Regions from separate parts of the Homo sapiens genome. Here region 1 is linked to region 2. Evidence: promoter capture Hi-C in human tissues and cell types (Jung and others, 2019). All regions are on one chromosome and are shown on one strand. The core of a region is centred on a gene start or on the middle of the fragment in contact, and the rest is flanking DNA. Distances in the headings are between cores, read along the strand shown. Region 1 overlaps SYNE3 (spectrin repeat containing nuclear envelope family member 3). Region 2 holds the start of DICER1 (dicer 1, ribonuclease III).

Region 1 (5,689 bases), core at 989-3,488, 260 kb after region 2:
CAGGGAAACATTTGGATGCTCCGCTCTGGCCATGTCCCAGGCGAGCTGATGGGCAGAGAGTTCTGCCTGCTTGCCCAGGGAACTCCATTCCCAGAGGCTACAGAGACTGCAACCTGGTAGAACCAGCCTGAAGCCCCCCTCCAGCCTGGGCTTTGGGGTCCTCATTGCCCCATGTTGTGGGTTTGGACCCACTTCAGCATGAGCAAGGGTCTTTATATCTTTAAGCCTCAGGGTTCCATCTCAAACATGGGGGTAAAACAGTATCAAACCCTGGGGGCAGGTGTCGATGTGGGAATTACATAAAGCAAGGCTGCAAAGTGCCGCCCAAGGGGCTCAAGCACCCACGAGCACCAAACGAGCACATTCTTTGTCTCCCTTGTCGGTGTTCCCTCTGTCCCGCCACCACTGGGCACCTCCCAGGGTCTCCTCGCCTCGTCTGCTGTCAGTACCTGCCCATCCCTCCCGCTCCCAGCTTTTCTTTTTAAACACCCTCTGGGTGCTGCATGTGCCTTTCCACATGCAGAGAACGGGCTAAGAAAGAAAGGGGTGGGAGGGACAGGTAAGCAGGGATAACTAATTCATCAACCGACCCACTGGTGGTCCTTTCTCCCTCCTCTCCTTCCCTCCTCTCTCTCTCTCTGACACACACACACACACACACACACACACACACACACACACACACACGCCACAGCGCCACCTTTCTCAAGTAGCACCTTAAAGCTCTGCATGGCTGTTAAAGAGGCTGGAAACTAAAGTCATAAGAATAATTGCCTGGCTCTCCTTTAAGCAAAGGAGATTGCACTTGTGCTTGGAAGCACCAGTAACTGGGCTGTTACGTTATATTACAAGTATATTTATATGAAAATACTGAAAATATCAATTCTTTTTTAAAAAACAGTTATGCAAACAAACAGACTTGATGGCATCATTATCAAAATTTAAAAAATATAGGTAGATATTCCCACCCCCGCCCGCATGTTCCAGCTTCTCCTTCCCCAACATGTGGTATATGTGACAGGCTGCATACATGCCCAGTGGCTGTTTTTTTCATGTAGTTGCTGACATGAGCGGATCATACCACAATGAGCAGGGTACCACCTGAGGGCCATGGTGGCCAGTTGGGCTCTGGCCTTGCTGCCTCTCACTGTGTGGCCATGGATCAGTTTCTTCCCCATTCTGGGCCTCAGCTTTCTCACCTGTGACATAGGAAAGTGGACACCTGGCAAGGCCCCCCCACCCACCCACCCTGCCACTGCTCTGACTTCCAGGACTGGACATCTGGGCTTGGCTGCCTGGGCTCACTCAGCTCCTGATTTTCCAGTAAGGTGGTCGCCTGCAGAGAACGGCCCTATGGCTTGGTTTCCAGATATCTGGAGAAAAGTGTGCTTTCTCTTCTTCCATGAAATCACAAATTTCTCTAGATATTTGGAAACCAAGTCACAGGGTTGTAGGATCTACTTTTTGAACTTTTCATCCCCTGTAGTTGCCAATTCTGCATGTACTAGTCTTGTAGAAATAAGTTAAACTGAAGCAGCTTGAGGGAAGGAACTTGATGGAAGGATGGAGAGTCTACAGGGCTTGTTTTCCAAAGAAAAGTGTTGTTTGGAGGAGCATAATTATAAGCCTACAGCTTATCATAAAGCTATTCAAAAAAAAAAAAAAATGGCCAGGCATGGTGGCTCATGCCTGTAATCCCAGTGCTTTGGGACGCTGAGGTGGGCGGATCACCTGAGGTCAGGAGTTCGAGACCAGCCTGGCCAACATGGTAAAACCCTAACTCTACTAAAAATACAAAAATTAGCTGGGCATGGTGGCAGATGCCTGTAATCCCAGCTATTTGGGAGGCTGAAGCAGGAGAATCGCTTGAATCTGGGAGGCGGAGGTTGCAGTGAGCCGAGATCGCACCACTGCACTCCAGCCTGGGCAAAAAGAGCGAAACTCCATCTCAAAATAATTATAATAACAATAATAATAATAACTCAGAGCCAGGCTTGTGGATGGAAATATAGTGCCCAAGTCACATTCTGCTTAAAGTTGTAACAAATACAGACGAGTTAAAAGAAAAAAAAAAGTACGCTTTCTGAGTCAGCCCCAAGGGCTCTCCTTGGCAGCACGGGTTTCCTGCCGGTGAAATGTCCTAGTTGCCTAGGACCCGGGTCCCCAAGGGCAGAGCTCACAGTGAAAGGCAAAGGGTCAGTGTGTGTGAGACAGCAATGGTGCTGGGTATCAGGCCCTCTTAGGTCCTCAGTTTCCCCTCTACTTAAAGGGCCTTTCTGGGTCTATAATACCTTATGATTCCAAAGCCGGACAGAAGGTCCGAGGAAATCCCCTCGTATTTGTAGTTGAACAGACAAAATCCATTTGTAGAGAGTGGGCATTAAGTACTTTTTTAAAGGGGAAAATTTAGTGTTGATTTAGGAAAAACATGATCCAGTTGTAGAGCACTTAGGAACCATCCCAGAGTTCCCTGGCAAGGAAGGGATGAGTTTCTGGCCTCGGGAACTCACATGGAGTCACCGCGGCCCCAGCCCAGGTGGTGCATGGAGCCCAGCTCGCCTACACCTGGCTGGAGAGGGCCTGGTTTTGGGTGGCCTGGGCCCTAGTCCCATATGGGGATGCACATGAGACCTTCTTGGCCCCATAGACCTGCTGTCTCCAGAGTCTTTTCTGGGAAGCGGAAGGAGAGCCCTTGAGACAGGCTGAACTCCAAAGCAGATTCTCTCACCTCTGTCCTGGACCCTCGATCCCTGGCCCCTGGCGTGGCAGATGCTTCCCTTCTCACCTGCAGCTCGAGCTCTCGACGATGAAAACTCAGTCCAGGAGCAACAGAGGAAACACATCTTTCCTGGGCACTGCCAGTGGGTGCTGCCCACCGAGTGTGCCTCACCATTCTGCATGGAAATCTTAAAAATCAAGCTTGTCTTCTTCCCTTTCTCCCTGAATGAAACACACAGAGCAGGATCTCACCGTTTCATGGGGGCTCGGTGTCATCACCAGGGACAGTCCTCATAGGTCTGTGTGATCAGAAGCCGCTGAGAGCTGGGGTTAGGGCTCCGGCATGCAATGCCTCCACACAGCTGTGCTTTCTTAGTTCGGGGATCTGCTCTCTGCAGCTCTTCTTTTTCTCCCTCGATATCACTCTGTCACTTGTCACTGCTATCATTGAACCTGCCTCTGGTCATTGCCATTTCTACTTCTGACACGTGGCAGCTACTCTTTGTGGTTGTTAAAACTAGACAAGCATACTTGTTCTCATTACGCATAAAGCAAGAGTCGCTGGGCACCAAGTGAGGGTCTATGGCGCTCTTCCACGTTGCAGCTCAGAGGCCTTTCATTACATCTGAATTCTGGGATTCGCTTTGGAGAAGAGGTTGCCATGAAAGTGACATGTTATTGTTCTTGCTTTCTAGGGTTGACTGCAGACCAAGTCAACAATACCACAAAATCCCATTGGAGGGAGCCATTGCTAGGAATTTTCCCAACTCCAAATAGAACTCGTATATGAAATTATACATACTGAGCATTTACATACAGATCATATAAAAATTCTAGACATTATTCCCTAGTCACATGTAGTACACATTTAGTATAAATAGACTAAGACAACACTGTATAAAAAGTAAGTGTCTTCTGGGAACGCTGACACAGCACTGATATGGATGCAGCTCTGCAGTCTTTGCCCTGCCCCTGTTTCCAGTTTCCCTGGCGAGCATCCTCAGGAGGGGCCCTGGGACTGATGGAGGTTGGAGGAGAAAGTCACCTGTGTGCCCCAGTGGGTTAGGTGGGTGGTGGGCCATTGTAGCGCAGCATGAGCGTGAAGGAGCGGGCGAAGTTGTTGGCCAGGGTGCAGCTGCGGTCCTCTTCCCTGATTGGGAGCAGGAACAGCAGGAGGAGGAACAGCAGCAGAAGCAGCTGCAGTGGGAGCGCCACACAGCACGCCCTCCGGAAGAGGGAGCCCAGTCCTCGCCACCGCCGAGTCTGCGGAACCAACACAGCACAGGTGAGTGGGCTGGGGGGCTCTGGTGGTGGGGGGCAGGTTCAGGGGGCGAGGAGGATGCCAGGAGCGGTGGTAGCACTGAACTGACTGTATGACAGTACACATCTCCAGGTTCTCATCTGTGAAACAGGGCTAATGTAAGTTTTAACAGAAACAGGGTTTCTGCAGTTTTCCCAAAGCATTCAAGGCATGAAAGGAAGAATAGAAAACACAGTTGCAGGCTCTGCCATTGTGACATATATCTTTGCCTGGTGTAGCAGAGTGCTGGCTGTGAATCCTAAGGTCACTTGACTTCTCTGAATCTCTAGTTTCTCATCTTCAGATGGGGCAATAATGGCACCTACATGACAGAATTGTCATGAGGATCCAATGAGGCAGAGCCTGGCACATAGTAAGTATGTACCAGCTGCTGTCATGATTAGTATGCATCCTTAATATTTCACCATCTAAATCTTCGTCATCACCATCATCACCAGCATCAAATTTATCATCGTCACTTTCTTCCTCCTCTTGTCTTTCTTCCCTTTCCTCTTTTTCCTCCCCCTCTTCCTTTTCTTTCTTTCTTTTTTTTCCTTTGAGATGGAGTCTCGCTCTGTCGCCCAGGCTGGAGTTCAGTGGTGTGATCTCAGCTCACTGCACCCTCCACCTCCCAGGTTCAATCAATTATCTCCCTCAGCCTCCCGGGTAGCTGGGATTACAGGCACCTGCCACCATGCCCAGCTAATTGTTTTGTATTTTTAGTAGAGATGGGGTTTCACCATGTTGGCCATGCTGGTCTTGAATCCTGACCTCGTGATCCACCCTCCTTGGCCTCCCAAAGTGCTGGGATTATAGGTGTGAGCCACCGCGCCTGGCCCCTCTCTTCTTTTCCTCCCTCTTTCCTTCCCTCTTCTCCCTCTCTTCCTCCTCCTCCTTTTATTTCATCATCAATTTCATCACCATCACTATTGCCATCAGTATCACATGAAGGTTAGTCTCACAAGTCCAAATGCCTAATGGACTTCTCTGCTACAATGTCCCTGAAAGTGGCCAAGAAAACATTTCCTAAGTTCTGGAGGGACTGGCCAGGTTGTGGCTTCATGGATGTCTGACTGCCAAGGAGTGCAGGGGCAAGAGCTGGTCACTCAGAAGAGTGAGGCCCTCATGGTCAAGATGCTGCAGAGTGCAGGACGAGCCCAGCTTTTAGGATCCTAGCAGACTGGGTCCCCACCCAGACTCTGTTACTCAACAGCTATGTGACCTTGGGCAAATCAATATTGGATCCTCTGTTATCTGCTCTGCAAAATGGGGATCAAACACCTACCCCTATTTGCTGGGCTGTGGTGAGGGCTCAAAGCAAAGGTATATATATACCTTGATTGATAAATGTACCAGTTCTTACTATTAGTACTATTAATACTTATTTATAATAATAGTGCTAGCACTATTAGTAACTGTTAGTGACATTCATCACTATTAATATTAGTAATCATAGCACTAGTACTATTATTATAGAATATATCTGCTGGCTCCCTAAAGAACCAAGGTTCACCCTCCAGGGCACCAAAAGCCACAGTCCCGTGATGATGATAGTGATAGTGACCATGGCGATGGAGGTGATGGCAATGATGGCAGTGATGCTTGATGATGGTGGTGATGCGATAATGATCATGACGCTAATGGTGGTGGGGTGGGGGTGGGGTGGTGAGA
Region 2 (5,072 bases), core at 1,110-3,609:
TCACAGTGAGGATTAGAAGAGAATGTACGTAGAACCTGAAACATCTTGGCGCATAACAAGGAGGCACTCAATAACACGTTTCCCTTATCTCCTTTGCCATGAGCAAGTGGAAACGTGACCATGACATGGTAGGGTCGCAAGTGAGAGACTGTCTACGAAATATCTACTTTCTCAAATGAAACAAGCACCTCACATGTCAGATAGTGGTAGAGAATAAAACATCCCAACGCCATAAAAGTCACCCTCTCTAGAAGATAGCACTACAAGTACTGTACAACCCACTATATGACAAAATCACTGTCAAATAAGAATCATGAGCCACATCAAAAGACAATGTCTTCTAAAACCAAGACAATAAAGCTCAATAATAGCAAAACAACCTAGCTACCCAACTCACACATTGAGCCACGGGCAAAATACAGCAGAGCAGTCAGGGCTTACCCTTCAAACATGAGATGGAAGCATAAAAAGTAAAGCAGGCCCTTACTAAAAAGGATTGTAGGAAAATGTCTTTTCTCCCCAAATTAAAATGGACTAACTGTTCTCTTCTTAAAACAGCATTTTGGTGCCGTGAGTAAATCTATAAACCTATGTTACCATGATCAATGTTTATAGTGACCATGTTAAAAGCAATCTTTAGTTTTTTGTTTTTTTATCTATTGAGTTTTATGGAATATGCCCTAAAATGAAGTTTTGAAATAATTGTGTATGTATGTGCATGTACACAGCACATATTACATATAATACACACGTGCCACAGGTAGCTTTAAAGTAGACTTTGCAAAATAAACTGGCTATTCCAGAACCTAATTTCCAAAGATATCAATAATATTGAAAATTACTATTCTCTAGGACCTGGCTTATCCCGAACCCATCTTTTAATAAACTGAGTTTTTTGGTGAGGATGTATATTTTTATTTAGAAAACTTAACGTTTACACCAATACATATTCAATATAGCTAACCTGTTTTAACAGCACATTTTTAACAATATTTTCCGAGTTGCTTAAATCCTAACCTGAGTCCTTTTCCACTGTTTGAAAACAAGCACCACGAAGACACCTGACAATCAGGATTGTAAAGATTCAGAATATTCGAAGACAGAAGCATAGGCGTCCAAGTGATCCTCTTTCATCAGATGAATGTTTTTAAAACCTGAAAGTCCTAAGAACACTTACTTATCGTGTAGACCAGTAACGTGTCCCTTTAACCACAACTCTCTCCACAAAAGCACGGAGTTAACACTACACAAATAGGACCCTCCAACTCATCTCCACGTTTCCGCGGATCTTCAGGTTCCTAAGGACACACTCAGTGGTTTGCTGGCTCTGACCTCCAGGCAGAGCCATCAGGGCAACTCAGCTTTTCTGGACAATCTACAGAAATCTGATGTGCTAACTTAAAACATACACTGATTTCCCCAAAATCAAAAACCCTGAAGAAAGGGTCCTCCGCAGGGTCTAGGCATTTTGGCACAAAAACATCTGAGGGGAGAGGCAAAAGAATGGCCTCGGCCCCTGCCCGCCCCCCAGGGCCCCAATCTGGTCCCCTGACAGTAATCACACAGGACCCTCCCGGGAGGGACCGAGAGCCCAGCTTCGTCCCCTCCGGGCGCGGCACAGCGGCCCCATCAGAGGAGGGCCCCAGGGTGCTCCGGCAGGTCAGGCGCGCGTCTCCACCTCCGCTGCTCCCGCGCCACCTTAGCGCGCGTGACGGGACCTGTCAAGAGCCCCAGGCCTCGCCAGGCCGGGGAGTGGACAGGCGCCGGCATCCCCCACCACGCCACGGCGGCCCGGAAAGTCTCCCAGGGCTGCCTCGCGGGGAGGCGCCGGGGTCCGGGCCCAGGAGCAGAGCCGAGGCGGGCAGACGCCGGGTCCACAGGCCGCGCTGTGCGGGACGACGAGGCAGGCGAGGCCGCGCCCTTCGTCAGCGCCCGCCAGGCCCGGACGCGCGGCTCGGGGCCATGGCCGGCACGCGGGCCTCCGCGCGGAGGCGGGAGCGCGGCCAGGCGACCCGCTCCCCGCCCCGGACACAAAGCTGCTCCGCGGGAGCCCGCCTCACCTGCAGCACGGGGCGCCGCGGGCCTTCGAGAACCATCGGACCCCGCTCCGGCGCGCGCGTCACAGCCCAGGCCTCCCGGAGCCGCCCGGCGCCGCCGCCCCCGCCGCCATTTCCTCGCGCTCGCCGTCGCCTCGTCCCCGCTGTCAGGTTACTCCATTCACCTGGGCCTGCAGCAGCCTGCGCCGCGCCTCCGCCTCGACCCCTCCCGCCGGCGCCTGCGGAGACTGCGCAGCGCCCGGCTGGCCGGCAGCCAGCGCACGGCCCGCGGCAACGGCGCACAGCCGCTTGGAGAATCCCACTGGCTCCCGCACCGCCCCTCCGCGCCCCCACGCTCCGCTCGCCCCGTGGCGGCATGAGAGCGAGCCTGTGATTGGACAGGGCCTGGCGGTGAAAGGTTAATCCCGGCCCCCCAGCCACTCAGGAGCAGGGAGACAGCGGGCGCGCGCGCGGAGGCCGGAGAGGCGTTTGCGGCCCAGCGCCTGGACTGGACCTTGGCGTTGGGCCGCAGTTGCCCGGAGTTTTTGGGGCCCCCGGGAACCCGCGCGCCGAGGCCGGCTAAGTTTGGCAGACTCTCTGAGCTCTCGGAATTCGACTGCCTCCATTGTTGCTCCTTCTGGCACCCACAGACCGTAACGTGGCCGTAATTGTTTCCCGGAGAGCTTAGCTTCCCTCTGAGCACCTCCCTCCCCTTTTTAAAGTACCTTCCCACTCGCCTGCGTTTCCTCGCGTTAGTGGTGCAGGGGCCTCCGCATTTGGGGAAATAACAAACACCCACTTCCGCCCCCCACCCCAACCGGGATCCCCAGATAATGAGAAATAGATGGTGGCCCTCTGTTTGTAAGCTGTTCATTTGCATAGGTCGGAACCGCGCACCACAGCTTGAAGCTAGGAATTAAAATATCGGTGGGAATTAAATAAGTGGCTGGCTTAAAGAACATCTTCTTAATTTATCCCCAAATGTAGACATCTCTTCAGTGGACCCCCTGATAGGCCGGTTTGCTCCAGGTGAGGTGTGCTCACAGCAACTGCAACCGTGTTTCTTTCAGACCATGGGCGTGAGCAGAACCTACTATGCGCCCCTGCTGCCTGGGCTGTGCTGTTCAGTTTGGGGCCACCAGCCCCACATGGCTCCTGAGCACTTAAAGTATGGCTAGTCGGAATCGAGATATATGCATTCTTTACCAAATAATGTTCAAAAAATTGTTACATGTTGAAGTGATAAACTTTTTCCATATATTGGGATAAAAGTTTTATTTGTTTATTTTTTAGTGTGGGTTCTACAGAATTTTAAATGTCACCTGTGGCCTGCATTATATTGCCATTGGGCAGGCTGATCTAGGGCTTGCATGCCTGTGATCCTTAGGTGCACCCTGTGAGGTAGGTGCTTTAACTGTGTGCACCCTGTGAGGTAGGTGCTTTAACTGTGTGCACATTGTGAGGTAGGTGCTGAAACTGCTTCCTGTTTTTTTTTTTTTTTTCTTTTGAGACGGAGTCTCACTCTGTCTCCAGGCTGGAGTGCAGTGGTGCGACCTGGGCTTACTGCAATCTCCGCCTCCCAGGTTCAAGTGATTCTCCTGCCTCAGCCTCCCGAGTAGCTGGGATTACAGGGGCACGCCACCACACCCAGCTAATTTTTGTATTTTTAGAAGAGACGGGGTTTCACCATGTTGGCCATGATGGTCTCGATTTCTGACCTTGTCATCCGTCCGCCTTGGCCTCCCAAAGTGCTGGGATTACGGGCGTGAGCCACCGTACCCAGCCTGCTTCCTGTTTTAACAGACGAAGAAATGGAATAACTTCCAACAAGTAAGTAGCCAGTAAGTGAACAACTGAGATTTGAACCCACGTAGTCTGGCTTTGAGGCTGGTGTGCTCAGTCATTACTGTGCTAAAATTTTGATAATATATTTACTATGAATTGGCTTAAGGTTTCACTTGAAAGTAGCATATTTATGGGCAAAATTAGGAAGTAGGATGCTCCTGGCAGACCCATGTATTTAAAAAAGTAGTTTCTTATATGTCAAGCACGGTGAGCATGTCATACCTTTAAGACCCCAGTCATACATATAAGGTTTTCTTTGTAGCTAGGAATTAAAATATCGGTGGGCGTTAAATAAGTGTCTGGCTTAAAGAACATCGTCTTAACTTATCCCCAAATGTAGATATCTCTTCGGTGGACTCCCTGATAAGCCTTTATGAGAAGGACAGCATCTCAGTATGGGGGTAGGCACTGGACTCTATTGGCAGTGGAAATTTGTGGGCTGGTACAACTTCAGCCCCTCTGGTTGCCCTCTTGCAATCTGTCAAGACTAGCCAGGCTGCTTGTTCCATCAGCAGGTATACCTGATTTTTTTATTTTTTTAATTTTATGTATTTGTTTTTTTCTTTTTTGAGGCAGAGTTTCACTCTTGTCGCCCAGGCTGGAGTGCAATGGCGCAATCTCGTCTCACTGCAACCTCTGCCTCCTAGGTTCAAGCGATTCTTCTGCCTCAGCCTCCCAAGTAGCTGGGTTACAGGCATGTGCCACCACGCCCGGCTAATTTTTGTATTTTCAGTAGAGACGGGGTTTCACCATGTTGGCCAGGCTGGTCTCGAACTCCTGACCTGCCTCGGCTTCCCAAAGTGGTGGGATTACAGGCATGAGCCACTGCGCCTGGCCGGTTTGTCTGATTTTTATCAATTTCAGTTTTTATTTTTAAAATAAATAGTATATCCATATTATTCATTTATCAGAAAGCCTATAAAAGATACACAGTGGAAAAAGATGTCCCTCACACCTGTCCTAGTGTCACAAATAGGTGACCACTGTTTCCTGCTCATTCTTCAAAATGTTTATGTATATATGAGCCAAGATATGCCCTTTGTGTTCCTTGTTTAGAAAAATGCCGGCATGCCATACATATTTACTCCACCTTGTGTTTTTTACTTAATGTATCCGGGGGGCATGTTTATAGTAACACATAGAGAGCTCCTTGCTGTTTTTTCAACCCCCTTAACATATTATTGCAGGTAT

The links. The method cuts DNA at HindIII sites, captures the fragments that hold promoters and counts their contacts. A contact is called where the count stands out against the background at its distance.
Region 1: a contact is called between a fragment that was not itself captured here and the fragment with the promoter of DICER1 in region 2, in 2 of the 25 tissues and cell types used here (IMR-90 fibroblasts and adrenal gland).

What each region holds. Positions count from the first base shown.
Region 1 is chr14:95,414,046-95,419,734 of GRCh38, forward strand. It overlaps SYNE3 (spectrin repeat containing nuclear envelope family member 3), which reads right to left. Exons shown (of 18, transcript NM_152592.6): 18 at 1-3,981. The coding sequence ends at 3,781. Among named protein-coding and RNA genes, the nearest start is that of LINC02292, 87 kb to the left of the region's middle. The HindIII fragment of the contact is 6,096 bases long and covers 1-5,286 here.
Region 2 is chr14:95,155,170-95,160,241 of GRCh38, forward strand. It overlaps DICER1 (dicer 1, ribonuclease III), which reads right to left and starts at 2,360. Exons shown (of 27, transcript NM_177438.3): 1 at 2,061-2,360. It overlaps DICER1-AS1 (DICER1 antisense RNA 1), which reads left to right and starts at 2,519. Exons shown (of 4, transcript NR_015415.1): 1 at 2,519-2,689; 2 at 3,024-3,065; 3 at 3,707-3,866. RefSeq lists silencers at 1,651-2,010, 2,071-2,530 and enhancers at 2,621-2,720, 2,761-2,830. The HindIII fragment of the contact is 9,684 bases long and covers 1-5,072 here.